5 separate regions of the Homo sapiens genome follow, and all the other regions are linked to region 3. Evidence: promoter capture Hi-C in 16 types of primary human blood cells and fetal thymus (Javierre and others, 2016). All regions are on one chromosome and are shown on one strand. The core of a region is centred on a gene start or on the middle of the fragment in contact, and the rest is flanking DNA. Distances in the headings are between cores, read along the strand shown.

Evidence for each region. The method cuts DNA at HindIII sites, captures the fragments that hold promoters and counts their contacts. A CHiCAGO score of 5 or more calls a contact.
Region 1: a fragment that was not itself captured here is called in contact with the fragment with the promoter of FHOD3 in region 3 in 4 of 17 cell types (total CD8 T cells, activated CD4 T cells, monocytes and 1 more); the score reaches 7.0 in total CD8 T cells.
Region 2: a contact is called between a fragment that was not itself captured here and the fragment with the promoter of FHOD3 in region 3, in 1 of 17 cell types (megakaryocytes). The highest score is 6.1, in megakaryocytes.
Region 4: a fragment that was not itself captured here is called in contact with the fragment with the promoter of FHOD3 in region 3 in 5 of 17 cell types (naive CD8 T cells, total CD8 T cells, endothelial precursors and 2 more); the score reaches 5.9 in naive CD8 T cells.
Region 5: a fragment that was not itself captured here is called in contact with the fragment with the promoter of FHOD3 in region 3 in 1 of 17 cell types (megakaryocytes); the score reaches 5.6 in megakaryocytes.

What each region holds. Positions count from the first base shown.
Region 1 is chr18:35,997,812-36,000,511 of GRCh38, reverse strand. All of the region lies in intron 6 of RPRD1A (regulation of nuclear pre-mRNA domain containing 1A), which reads left to right. Among named protein-coding and RNA genes, the nearest start is that of RMP24, 26 kb to the right of the region's middle. The HindIII fragment of the contact is 1,347 bases long and covers 594-1,940 here.
Region 2 is chr18:36,577,678-36,580,377 of GRCh38, reverse strand. The region is part of intron 6 of FHOD3 (formin homology 2 domain containing 3); the gene reads right to left. Among named protein-coding and RNA genes, the nearest start is that of TPGS2, 250 kb to the left of the region's middle. The HindIII fragment of the contact is 4,705 bases long and covers 1-2,700 here.
Region 3 is chr18:36,296,366-36,299,065 of GRCh38, reverse strand. FHOD3 (formin homology 2 domain containing 3) reads right to left here and starts at 1,353. Exons shown (of 29, transcript NM_001281740.3): 1 at 1,066-1,353. The coding sequence starts at 1,230. RefSeq lists silencers at 1,111-1,180, 1,301-1,590 and an enhancer at 1,530-2,507. The HindIII fragment of the contact is 3,286 bases long and covers 102-2,700 here.
Region 4 is chr18:36,030,957-36,033,656 of GRCh38, reverse strand. It overlaps RPRD1A (regulation of nuclear pre-mRNA domain containing 1A), which reads left to right. Exons shown (of 7, transcript NM_018170.5): 3 at 2,560-2,666. Among named protein-coding and RNA genes, the nearest start is that of RPRD1A, 35 kb to the left of the region's middle. The HindIII fragment of the contact is 3,070 bases long and covers 1-2,700 here.
Region 5 is chr18:36,558,634-36,561,333 of GRCh38, reverse strand. The region is part of intron 5 of FHOD3 (formin homology 2 domain containing 3); the gene reads right to left. Among named protein-coding and RNA genes, the nearest start is that of FHOD3, 260 kb to the right of the region's middle. The HindIII fragment of the contact is 407 bases long and covers 1,070-1,476 here.

The DNA of each region.
Region 1 (2,700 bases), core at 18-2,517, 300 kb after region 3:
GAAAACTTGATAAAATATCTTTTTCCACATGTTGTTAACAATCTGGAAGATTAATGAAACTCTGCAATAGTGGATTTCTTAAGAGAAGGAACTAAAGGAAGTGAGACAGTTCGTTAGATGATACTTACTTACATTAAAGTAATTCCCACCAAAAGGTAAAACTTCTGCAGTCAAGGGGGAAAAAATGACAGCTCCATCTGAGATGTATAGGATAACCTGTGAAAAGAAATGAGAAAGGATTGGCTATATTGGAGTTTATATTTTTAAAATTGTCAATTCCAGGATTAGATACCAAGCCAAATTTGAGCATTTGTTTCCCAGAAGGTGAGGGCAAACCACTGAGATCTTTATTTCCTTTGCAGTCTGTCCCCTGGGGATGGTAACAGACTTGACTAATCTGCAGTCTCAGAAACGCCCTGACATCATGGAATGTCTTGGCCTTATTAAAAAAAGAAAATGGGTGTGTGTGTGTTATATCTTGATTAATACTTCAGTTAATTTTTTCCTCTAATCTAGAAAAGGGCCCAATTCCAGGACATGAAAAATGAAGTAAAAGTAAATGGTGATGGATCCTAATAATGAGAACTGAAGCTTCTTAATAGTTCTATTGAAGGCAGTGGCTTAAGAAATACTTGTATGTTAACTTCTTAAAAGAGGCAAAGGACATTATACTACAGATAAATGAGGTCACCAGAGAAAACAAACTTTGCACCTTTTTTCTCTACAAATTCTGCTGTTTTTATCAAGAAATGGGTAGGAAGCCATAGGTCTGCAATACAGTAAGTATGATGCTTAGAATTGACCAAAGCCTTTAATTGACCACTAAAGATCCCCATATGGATGTGGTTGAAATTCTCTCTTTTTTTTTTGTCACAATTATGTAGGAAAGATAAAATGAATTATTAGCAGCATCTGCAAGAAAAAGGCAGCCATGTAAATATTTTAATTTCAGAAATATTATGTATTTAAAGCAACTAGAATTTTAGAACATAACAGGGTCAGCCCTAAAATGAACAAGAATTCCAAATTTCAGGAAATTTATTCTCTTAGATGTTCTTACTGCAAGGTGATTCTGATATCATCTCAGAATGATAACCACAATTATATAGCACTTCCTAATTTGAAAACTTCCACATAATTTGGCCACACAGCACTGTAAAATAGTACCCTTATTTTATGAAGGAGGCATCTGAGACTTAATTAGATAACCTTCAGGAGCCCTTGTCCAGGTTTACATAGGAAGTAGATTGAGGAAACAGTACTCCATCCAGATCTGACTTCATGGAGTGTTGACTGGGGCGTACTGTTAATACTCAGTCCCCTGCTGGACACTGCAAGTAATGTAGATATATAGAAAGTGTGTTTTCTAATTATGGGTATGAAATTAGAAAACAATCCAGTAGTAATTCAGAAATAACTTGTATAGTAGTATATCATAGGAAGTTAGCTTGAGGCCAGAGTCAGAAAAGATTCTATTGCAGTGTTTGGTCTTAATGTAGGACTTGAAAAATATATAAAATTTGGATCCTCAATATATACTTAGTATTAGCTGTAAAGAAATCTGTAATGGTGGTTCAGATTTCAAGAAGCTGTAGCCCACTTGCAGTGCACACAAGGCAAGTCACACCTCCTAGTTCACTAGTGTTGAAGTATTATAGCAGTGTAAAGAAGGCTTCTGCCCTTGGAAAGACAAGACAGACTTAACATGGATTACAACCAAACAGCGCAGAGATAGTTTCAGCTAGGAGCCTAGAGTAAGGATGCTAAGAACAGGGGAAGAGTTTTAGGCAAAGTGAAAATTTGCCTGGATTATGACAGATGGGCAAAATTTTGGAAGACTGGAGGGGCTTGGATATGATCAGTGGAATTGAGCCTTGGTATGAAGCTGGAACTGCAGAAACTGACATGAGGGTTGCTCATGACTGAGGTGATAACAAGCTTTAGGGTGGTAGTGGTGATACTTGTGGCAAGTAAAGGGTAAATTAAGGACAGAAAGGTGGGCCTTGTTGAATGAGGAAAACGGAGGAGAAGAAGTAAAGTGGCTTCGGTCAACAGAGTAAGAAGAATGAGGTAAAGCATTGGTTCCCAAATGCACCCATGCCATGGTGCCACCTGAGAACATTTATTTTAATAGTTACATTTTTTTTTTTAGTTTTTGAGACAGTTTCATTCTTGTTGCCCATGCTTGAGTGCAACGGTGCAATCTCAGCTCACTGTAACCTCTGTCCCAGGTTCAAGTTGTTCTCCTGCCTCAGCCTCCCAAGTAGCTGGGATTACAGGTGCCGCCACCACACCCAGCTAATTTTTGTATTTTTAGTAGAAACAGGGTTTCACCATGTTGGCCAGGCTGGTCTTGAACTCGTGACCTCAGGTGATCCGCCCGCCTTGGCCTCCCGAAGTGCTGGGATTACAGGCGTGAGCCACTGCGCCCAGCCCTAGTTACGTTTATTTTGATGTGTGAATCAAAACGAAAATGAGCACAACCAACCTGTGATTGCATGGATATTATTTCTTAGAATGAAGATGTTAAAAAATGAGTTGATTTAAATATTATGTAAATAACAGTGTAAGGGAGTCATGGTAAAGAACGTTATGAAGGATGGTAGTTAACTAATTGAAGTTTGGAAAATAGTGATTAAAAATTGGGAGAGGTGGTATGAGGAAAATTTCTGGGGTTCTGAAAAAGCCTATATCTTGATC
Region 2 (2,700 bases), core at 19-2,518, 280 kb before region 3:
GCAGAACACAGGAGCCAGAGACTATTCTAGACCTGCCTTTGGGAAAATAAAAGATGAAGACAGAAATCCACACAGATCCAGTGCTGACGGCCCAAATGGCTAGGGAGGAGGCGAGTGTGCCACCTTAGACAGAGGCCCTGAAGAGGCAGCCCAGAGTCCTGAACCACCACTGAGGAAGCACACACCGAGTGCACCGTGTAGGATGGGGAGGCTGGGAAAGCACAATTCCTACAAATGTATTTTTGAAACTTTTTAATTTTATAATTTTTCCATGTTATTTAGAAATGCAATAAAGATTTTCCTGTGTGTTTATTCTTTCCTGATTGTTTATTTTCCTTACAGAATGATTCCAAAGTAATATCAATATGATGCTGTTGCCACATCAGAGACTCTGAGCCATGGCATGCATTTCTGTTATTTCTGTTTTTTTTTTTCTCTGCTGCTCTTCTTCTTTTCCTCCTCCGTGGTCCTTCTCCTCCCTCTTTTCTATCTCTCCCTCTTCTTTTCTTTGTGCCTTTCCTCTCTTAGTCTATTTTTGCTGCTATAAAGAGAAATACCTGAGACTGGGTAATTTATGAAGAACAGAAATTTATTTCTCACAGTTCTGGAGGCTGGGAAGTCCCAGATCAAGGCACTGACTGTGAGGGCCCAGTCTCTCTGCATCCAAGATGGTGCCTGTTGCTGTATCTTCTGGAGGGCAGGAAGGTTGTGCCCTCACATGGCAGAGAATCAAAAGAGAGCAAATGCACTCCTTCCACAAATCCTTCTTATAATGGCATTAATCCATTCATGACAGCAGAGCTTTCATGACCTAAACACCTCTTGACACTGTTGCATTGGGGATCACGTTTACACCACAAAAATTTAGGGAGGCACATTCAGACCACAGCATTCTCTATGTAATCTCTCCCTGCTCACAGTGATTCTTCCCCATACCCATCCCACCTTCCCTAACCTTGCCCTCACTCTATTCTCTGTCTGGTGATGAGCTAACAGACTGTCAGTTTTTCTATTGTAAGCATGTTAGGTTTTATTTCCTTTTAGAAATAGGGCAAGTTGTTGGTGTTTTATCATGGCCATCATAAAACCATAAAGATATCTTAATTCAGCTGTGTCATGTACAAAAAGTCAATCTTTCTTGCAAAATCTCTTCCCATCTCCCTAGCTTTTATGTCCTTGAGACCATTCAGAGTGCCTTGGGGAGGGAGCAGGTTCCAAATGAACATGAAAGTTAGGGAGGCTTCCCAGCACAAGCAAGGAAAAAGGAGAAAAAACTGAAACAGGATATGAGATATAAATCTTCCCTCGGTCTGGCTGATGCAACCTAGAAAGCCCAGCATTTCACTCAGTGTCCAAGGTCACCTACATCAGTTTCAAAACAGAGTCACTTCCATTTTCCATAGAAAACAAAGCCAAACATTTTTTTTTAAAGATTTTCAATCTTCTGAGGGAAAGCATAGCTGTTTCTAATCTGAAATGGGGAAAAATTCTCTCATCAATAAGTACTAGAAAAAGAAAACCTGAGGGCAAGATGTGAGGGTCACCCACGGATATGGGACCCCATGGGGATTCGCATGCCAGTGCCAGCCACAGAGAAAAAGCCCTTCCAACCACACAAGGACACAATCACCAGGATTCTGAGAAGCCTGAGAAGGAGATACAGCCTAAAACTAGAACCATACTCCTCCCCAAATCAAACCAGGGCTGAGTGCTCCCAAAGGACAGCAGAATCCTTGGGAGGCAGGTGACTCCAGGGGTAGGGCCAGGGGATGGACTCCCCAGCAGAGCACAGCACTGTGAACAGCAGCCTGGAAAGGCTCACTCTAGTGGGGGTGGGCAGTGAACACAGGGATGGGGGACAGTCTGGGCAGACCACATGTGATATGGTTTGGTTCTCTGTCCCCACCCAAATCTCACCTTGAATTGTAATAATTCCCACATGTCATGGGAGGGACCCAGTGGGAGGTAAGTGAATCATGAGGGTGGGTTTTTCCCATGCTTTTCTCATGATAGTGAATAAGTCTTCTGAGATCTGATGGTTTTATAAAGGGTGGCTCCCCTGCACACACTCTCTTGCCTGCCACCATGTAAGATGTGCCTTTGCTCCTCCTCCGCCTTCCGCCATGATTTTGAGGCCTCCCCAGCCATGTGGAACTGTGAGTCCATTAAACCTCTTTCCTTTATAAATTACCCAGTCTCAGGTATGTCTTTATTAGCGGTGTGAGAACAGATTAATCCAATATGCTTTTCAGGGACCCTACAAAGCTATGCTGATTCTGTGACCTGTTTAATTCAGGTTCAAATTCTGTATCCAGGCCCTCAAGATCCCCCACTCCATCTGACCATGTTGCCCACTACAGCCACTCTGATCTCCATAACGTGCCACCCGTACAGCACTTTAACCTTGGTGCATGTGCACCTGCTCAGGACAGGGTCCCTTTCACTACTTCTCCCAAATCCCCCTGCAGTCAGGTCCCTAACACATGCTCCTCCACACCCCGGCAGAAACCAGAGAAGACTATGCCAGAGGCTTGCCCAGCTTTCGGCGCACCTGAAGTGACGGAATAGATCTGCTTCCTTGGCAGGACCTCCAGAGACCTCAGGGACCTGGCAGCCAAGGCGTGGCTGGTGGTGATGTGCCAAAATGCATGGGGAAACCAGCTAGGCTTTCATAATCAAGCACTATTTCCTCAACTACCA
Region 3 (2,700 bases), core at 104-2,603:
AGGTTTTTTTTTAAATCAATTTTGTTCTTTTGGGCATCAACGCTTATCTCTTCCAAATATGTGTTAATGTCGACCCTCAAGAAATAAATCATCTCCAAGCTTTGATATGAATCCTAGGCAGAAAAAATACTGGGAAGGTAATTTTGCAAGCTGCATTCAATCTGTCTAAGTGAGAGTAAGGGTTTTCCTAGGTAACGAAATGATTAGCTTTCAATACCCACCTCTTTGCAACAAATGCTTTGCAAGAGGCCTATCCTCCTGCAAAAGGTTTTATTTAAATAAAAATAACAAATAAAAAAAAAAAAACCTCTCTAACGGGTAGACTGAGCAGCCATTCTTCCCAGGGGACACTCATTTCGGGCTGCCAAGCTGAGGCTTTGTGAGCGCGCCGCCCCTCCGCGCCCCCGCCCCTCCTCCCACAGCGACTGCTCCTCCGAGGTTCCCAAGGCCACCTGCTTCTCAGAAGAAAAGGGGGATACCCTGAGCGCTATCGCAGTGTGCGGCCGGCGTCCCCGGCGGCGCCCCCGGGGGAAGGAGGAGGCGGTGTCGCCGGGAAGCGTGCTTTGTCGCGAGGGTCGCGTGGCCGCCCGCAGCGGCCCCAGAGGCCTGAGGGAGGTTTTGTCCCGGCCGTCGCTCAGAGCTCTCCTCTCCAAGGGACCTGAGTCTCGCGGCGCTCCGCTTCTTCCCGCGCCCCGCTTGGTGCCCGCCCGAGTGCCGAGGCCGACTGCCCGCGTCCTAGCCCCACCCCGCCCACCCGGCCGAGCTAACGGCGCGGCTCGGGGGAGCCTTCTCCATCCCGCCTCGGACCGGCTCGGCACCTGCTCTGCCACGCCCGCCCCCGGCTCTAGCTGTTCCTTCCCGCCCGCCCCGGAGGGTCCTGCGCCAACCAGCGGGTGCCTCGAGCCCTTCTGTCTAACGGGGAGGGGGATTTGCCCTCGAGCGATGGTCCCCCCGGGCCGCGCCCAGCCCAGCCCAGGGGGCCCACGAAGCCCCGGGACCCACCCCGGCGCGCACCGCGGCAGGGGGCTGAGTCCAGGGGGCCCAGCCCACCCCGCCGGGTCGTACCTTGTGCGGCGCCTGCAGCAGCCTATGGACCCCCGCCAGCTGGGTGCCGAGCGCGAGGTCCTCGCGGAACGTGAACAGCGGCGGCCGGCTGGGCTCGGGGAAGTTGGTGCTGTTGAAAGGGTCCGTGTCGTCCAAGAACTGCACCCGGCAAGCCAGCGTGGCCATGATGCATCCCTGCCGCGGGGGCGCGGGCCCCGGGGTTAGCGGGGCCGCGGGCCGGGACGCCCGGGTAGCTGCGCGCAGGGGAGGCCGCAGCCGCAGCTCGCTGGCTCGCGGACTCGCAGGCTCAGGCGCGCCGGGCTGCAGCCCGGGCTCCGGCCGCGGGGGGCGGGGCGGGGGCGGGGCCGGCGGGCCCCCTCCTTCCCCTCTCCCTCCGGCTCCTCCCCTCCTCCGGGTCCTCTACCCCCGGCCGGGCTGCCCCGAACGACCGGACCGCAGCCGGGAAAGTGCAAAGGAGACGGCTCGCGCGGCATCCGCAGCCCTGCGCCAAAGGCCGGCGGCGGAGGCGGGGCGGGGAGGCCGGGCGGCCGGACTCTGCTGCACGTGCGCCCCGCGGCCCAGGGCCGAGCTGCACCCCTCGGAGCCTGGAGGACCGAGTTGGGGAGTTGGGGGGTTGGGGGACGGGGAGACAGGCGGCCTTCTGACTTCTTCCCCACCCGGAGAAGGCTTAAGCCTTTCCAGATGAAGGCGGCGGCGGCCGGCTTCTGCTGCCCAGATTTGGAATACCCCGGCAGGGCACCAGGTGGCCAGGGAGCCGGCTTCGGCAGCAAGAGGGGTGGTGGCAGTGACCGGGAGCCCCACCTAAGGGTACGGGGAGGTTTCCCTTAGGGACAAAGAAGCTAAGAAAGAGGAGGGTGCGCCAGGGAACCCAGGCCGCTTTTAGGGCACAAGCCTAGAGTCGAGAGGCGTGGGGGCTGCGAGGCTTCGCTGCGGGACTCCAGCGCCGGGCCTGGACCCCGGGGCTCCCGGCGGATGCTGGTTAAACCTCTGCATCACCACGGCCTCTCCCCAGTTAGGCCGCCGAAAGCCCTAATTGGACCTTGTGGGGCCGCGGGGGCTTGGGGAGGTGGGAGCCCTTCTGGCAAGGTTCCCGAATTGCAGAGAGCCGGGGATGCCCTGGTAACCGAGGGACTGGGAAGGAAGGTTTGCGTCCTGCCCGCCCCTGCCAGGCGGGAGCGGCAAGACTCGGCGCTGCCTCCCACCGCTCTCCTCGCTGCTCACGGGCGACCCCCTTCGTTTTCAAGAAAAATTCACGGTTCTCCCTATTCCCAGGCCACAGCCAAGTTCCTGGTTCCTCCCCCCTTATATAGATCGCCCTCATAACACCCAGTCTCTCTTAACATCCGAGTGTTTTCAAGGCGACTCTATAACGCGTCTATCTCCCTTTCCTCTGGTTTCAAGGGAAAAGAAACCCTTATCCCTATTTAGCAGCCTCACCCACATCTTTAACCTCTCCCTCTCCGTGATCTCCCTCCCTGCCACACATACACACTTATGCCTGATCTTAAAATAATAATTCCACGACACTTCCGCTCCTTCCAGACGAACTTCTAGCTCTACTTTCTTTGTTATTTAACTCTTTGAATGAATCCTCTAGATTAGCCGTCCCCAATCTTTTTGGCACCAGGGACCGGT
Region 4 (2,700 bases), core at 124-2,623, 270 kb after region 3:
TCCTTTTGCTAAAATTTGCCTTAAACTATTAAAATAAAAAGTAGGGAATATAGTTTTTTGATGCTTTTATTTGAAAAGACTTCCCTCTACATGGCATTTATAAATGTATTAAATGCCTTCTCTGAAGGAAAAATATTTTTTGAACTGTTGCTAAGGTGGGCCTTTGGAGTACTTGAATTACAGCTTTCCTTTAAGAGACCAGAACCAACTGCTATATTGGAATGAACTTCATTAAAAATGAATGAAGGTATTGAAGTAAAAATTTGTGTGTTTATAAAGCTATCAGTCTTGTAACAAATATTTCCATATACACTTAGTACTGTTTCTATTCTTTTTTTTTTTTTTTTTTTTTTTTTTGAGACAGAGTCTCACTCTCACCCAGGCTGGAGTACAGTGGTGCGATCTTGGCTCACTGCAACCTCTGCCGCTTGGGTTCAAGCGATTCTCCTACTTCAGCCTCGCAAGTAGCTGGAATTACAGGTGCCTGCCACCATGCCTGGCTAATTTTTGTGTTTTTAGTAGAGACAAGGTTTCACCATCTTGGCCAGGCTGGTCTTGAACTCCTGACCTCGTGATCCACCTGCCTCGGCCTCCCAAAGTGCTGGGATTACAAACGTGAGCCACCATGTCTGGCCTGTTTCCATTCTTTACTTGCCCTCTGGGTAATTTTGTACATCGCATGTATTTGGTTATTCTCCACACCGTAATGACTTACAGTTTTATGCTCCAGTCCAGATTTTTTTTTGTTCCAAACCTGTGTGCCCAATTGCCTTTTGACATTTTTACTTGTATGCGTCTCAAACATTTCAGACTCACTGTGTCTGATACAGAACTCATTATGTCCTTGCTTCCCACCGTACTTGTCCCTCCTGTAGGTTTTATACTCTGTGAATGGCAACTCGATCTATCCAGGTGCCTATGCAAGAAATTATGTTACCTTTAAACTCTTCTTTCTCCTTCAGTCCCCATATCTCACATAGTACACATTGACTCGGTTCTTTGGATTTCTTTCCCTTTTAGTTACCATAATGTATTTTCAGTATAATTTTAATGCCCTTTAGTATTGTTTAATTTCTTTAGAAAACTCGACAGAGTTGCAGAGCTGGTCATAATACTTCCTTGCCTTTGAGTGGTTCCCATTTGTTTTAGAGATGAAGTCTAAAGTCCTGAGCAAGACTTAAGGTGTTCCTTCGTGGCACTGCCTATCTCCCCAGACCTCTGTCTCGCATTTATTCCACACAGTCTATAGTCTACAGTTTAAGCTAAATTAACCTTTTTTAGTTCTTTCCGCCTTAAGTCTTCTATATATGTTGCCCCTCCCTAGAATTCAGTAAAATATTTATTGGCTGCATAAATATTTATTATATGCAAAACCCTGAGTAGTAGTGACCAAGACAGTTTTGTTCTACTGGAGCCTACATTTCATTGGATGACAAAGTTAATAAGTAGATAGACAAGTGAATGCATAATGTCAGATGACAAATGCTAGCAAGAAATACAAAGCAGGGAAGGAACTAGATAGTATGAGGGCGCTCAGTTATGTGATGAGATAAAGAACAACTATTTGGGGAAGGTGGCATTTGAACAAAGACTAAAGGAAGGGGTGAAATGAGCCATTTGACTAGGCAGAAAGGATTCTAGGTAGAGAGAATATGTGGCCGAAAAAATGAGATAGCTTATATGCTGGACATGTTTGAGGACCTTAGCAAGGAGATTTGTATGGTACTAGGTATTAGGGAGTGTGTACTGAGGGACTGCCAGAAAGCAGAGCATGTGGGCCTTATGGCCCAGAGTAAGGATTTTGGTTTTATTCTTGATGTGATTGGTAGCTCTTGGAGGATCAAGAGCTGTATAATCTGATTTACATTATTAGGATGCTTTGTACAGAATAGAGTAAAAGAGTAGAGGCTGGGAGAGCGTGAGAAGACTTTACAAAATTCTAAGCAAGAGATAGTAGTGTTTCTGTCTACAGTGATAGCAATGAAGGAGGTAGGAAACAGTTGGGAGTAGTCTGTTTTTCATTTCCCCATATGTCTAGTCTTAAGATCTCAAATTAAATATCATTTCCTTAAATACTCTTCCGGATATCTCTTAAACAGGGCCAGGTCTGTCTTAAGCACTTTGTTCTCTTTTGTGATACTTATAAATAACAACTGCCATAAGCTGCATTTGCATCTCCATGTCAAAGATAGTAACTGGATCAATAAGTATTTGTTGAATAAATTTAAAAAAATAACCTATGAGAAATCTTCCTTAGCCCCATGTCCAGGCCCCATTAGGATAGGAAATCCCTAGCAGCCAGTACTAAAACTTTTACAGTTTAAACTTTTTTTGGTTGTGTAATAATATGTTTATAAAATGTTTACTAGAAGCAAGCAGTGTGTCTAGATCACTTCACTTTTGAGCTGCTGGCCACATAGTGATGCTAAGTAGACATTTGGACAGTTTTTTCCAGGGAATGAATGTCTGATTATATTTAAAGTTACCGTTAACCTTTTCAATAACACTATGCATTGTTACTGTTAACATTTTTCTTTTTTTCTTTTTTTTTTTTTTTAGTGAAACTGATGAAAGTTGTAAGAAGCACCTTGGAAGAGTGTTATCTATTTGGGAAGAAAGGTCTGTTTATGAAAATGATGTATTAGAACAACTTAAACAAGCTCTGTGTAAGTGTAGAATCCTGATCTCTTACCTTGATCT
Region 5 (2,700 bases), core at 24-2,523, 260 kb before region 3:
CCATCCTGTCTCCTGGGCCAACACATTAGATTCCATTTATTTAATAGCTATTCCCCAGCAGCTGTAATTACGTGTTCATTAGAACAGAATTGTTTTGCCATCCTTATAGTAATTACTGGCTGTCAATCAATGACTAGTATTTTGCTTTCATTTCTGTAATTATATAAGCATTTCTCATGTTATCAGCTACTGAAATGGAATAAATACTTCAGACCATAAATTCTTAATAGGAGCTAGAAACATGAAATTTGATTCTTGGGAACAAAAACATCTTAGATATCACAAATGTGTACAGCCCTCCACAGGGGAAGAATACATAAACAGAATGTCTGCGGAATTTAAATTTCATGAGGGTTGGGGTATGGGGGTGATTCAGAAAAAAATATATGAAAAGGCACCTTAGGGGGATGATTCTGAACAGAAGGTTGACAAACACTGCTTTATACACTATAATTAAATATTTCCTTAAACAAAGAAACAAAAAAAAAAAACAGAAAAAAAAAAAAACAGCTGCTCTTTACACACACACACAAAGCTATAGAAGAAAGTTTTAATGAAAAACTACTGCAAGGCTGTGCTGCAGCCTCTCTCCAGTCTTTCAACCCAAACTGTGGCGATCTATGAGAGGTGTTACCCTCCTTTTGGCCCAAACTCTCTTAGCTTTTCTAAAGACTGACATACACACCCACTCATGCAAACAGTTGCAGCATTTGTTAAGCACCAGGCACTCTGCTAGGCCCATCTGGCAGGAATCCCCTTGGCCAAATGGACAGAGCACTGCAATGGTCAGGAATGGAGAATGATCAGACCCGTTACTCCACAAGAGCTTTGAAGGGAAGACATGGGAGGTAGGCCAGGCAAGTAGTGGCAAGTGCAGGCTCTAAAGCCAAAGAAACTTGTGTTTGAGGCCATCCCTACTGCCTCTTGCCAAACAAGCAATGTTGTACAAGTGATTTGACCTCTGGTACTTAAATTTCACCAGTGGAAACTGTTTATCAACATCCTCAACAGTCCTCATTCCAAGGTCTCGCAACTATGTTTTGGGGAAGCTCTGGCTTTAGTATAAGCTTGCTTGAGAATGGGCTCCAGCAGGTTAGATGCAAGGCCCAGACTAACTACCCTCAGACAGAAAGGAGCAGCAGTGAACAGCTTTCTAAGTCAAAGGACGAACTTAGGCAAGGTGTAACCCTGTTTTTTATGCTAATTCATCTACCCAACAAGGGGTACACACTCATTCACTCACTCTGGGTGCCCAAGGACGGTTCCTGAAAATTTGGACAAGCAAGCATGTAAAAAAGTCTGCTGCATGTGGAGTTTGATTTCAGGGATCCTAGAAAGAATTCACTTTCCAAAAGTATGCCTCTCTCAGCTTGCTGCAACTGTCTTTCCCAATGGATACCTGCCACAGAGAAAGGTAAGGGTCAAGAGTGGCAGTTAACATAATTCATGCTGTGGGACCGGGGGGCTAACAAAGCTTATGTTTCAGAGTCCCTCATTCAAACAGGCCCCTTCCCAGACCTTGGGAGGGGCCCTAGCAATGTGTTCTCATGGCCCTGTATTTTTATACAACTTGCACAGGGAAGTTATTTTAACAGCAATCACTTAAGGCCACGGGCTCTATCTAAGCTGATTTCATCACTCTCTCTCAGGTCAGGATATGATAATGATGAAAACCAAAATAGACATATCCTCAGGGAGGCACAAACCTTACACAAGGAGGGAAAAACAATCACTGTGCAGCTGTTTAAATGGCTTGTGTGTCCTGCCCAAGCAAGATGCTAAAATGTAGTGCAGAGGGGTATGGAAGAAGTAGTATTGGTGGGGGCTGTAGGTGAATGGTAGGTAATTAGTAAACAATAATCACATGCAAATGAAGCCTATTATTCAGAAAGGAGGAAAGGGCAAAGTCAGCTCGTCCTATTTTAACAGCTTCCTTCTGAGTGGAGGAGGACTGATGTCACCGGTCCCGCTGCTCAGTTCATCTTTAACTCATTCTTCTTTCTGCTGAGCCAAGAGAAGCAGCCGCAGAGAGGACTCTGGGAGGACAAACAACACTACTGAGTAGTCAGTTGTGGGTCGTCTTTCAATAGCAAGGTGATCAAACGCTGGACAGTTTTGAAATCTTTTGGGCTTTTCAACATCATCCCGCCCTGAAAACCTGAATAAGCCCCCAAAGAATCCAACTCAAGGATACTGTCAAAGACCAGGAGTAAGTGATGGTTGACAGTGGTCTAAGGAGAACGTCAGGAGAGAGAAGATACTACAATAGGTGAAGATGACCGAGTTGGTTGTAGCCAGGTGATTCTTCCTGTCCTGTGAAAACACTGGTGACAATAGAATAGCTTGTCAGAGGAGGCAGGGCTGAGGGCTGAGCACTGAGCAGAGCACAGGGGTCTGAATGTGGGTATGAGTGCAGGCGGGAAGCACTGCAACTCAGCAGTGACACCACTGACATGAAGGCAGCCCGTTCTCTTTGAGTTTTTAGTTCATAAGAATGTGTATACTTTTATAAAGTTCCAATGATGACACACCATGGACTATTTTAACATATTTTTAATACATTTAGTATTAGTGTTTTAAATGTTGAAAATCTTAGAAACTGTCATTTAAAATAAACCACTAATATTTCACTGCATAGATATGCCTTGATCTTAACCCCTCTCCTTTTTGATAAACATAGATTCCTTCTAATTTCTCATT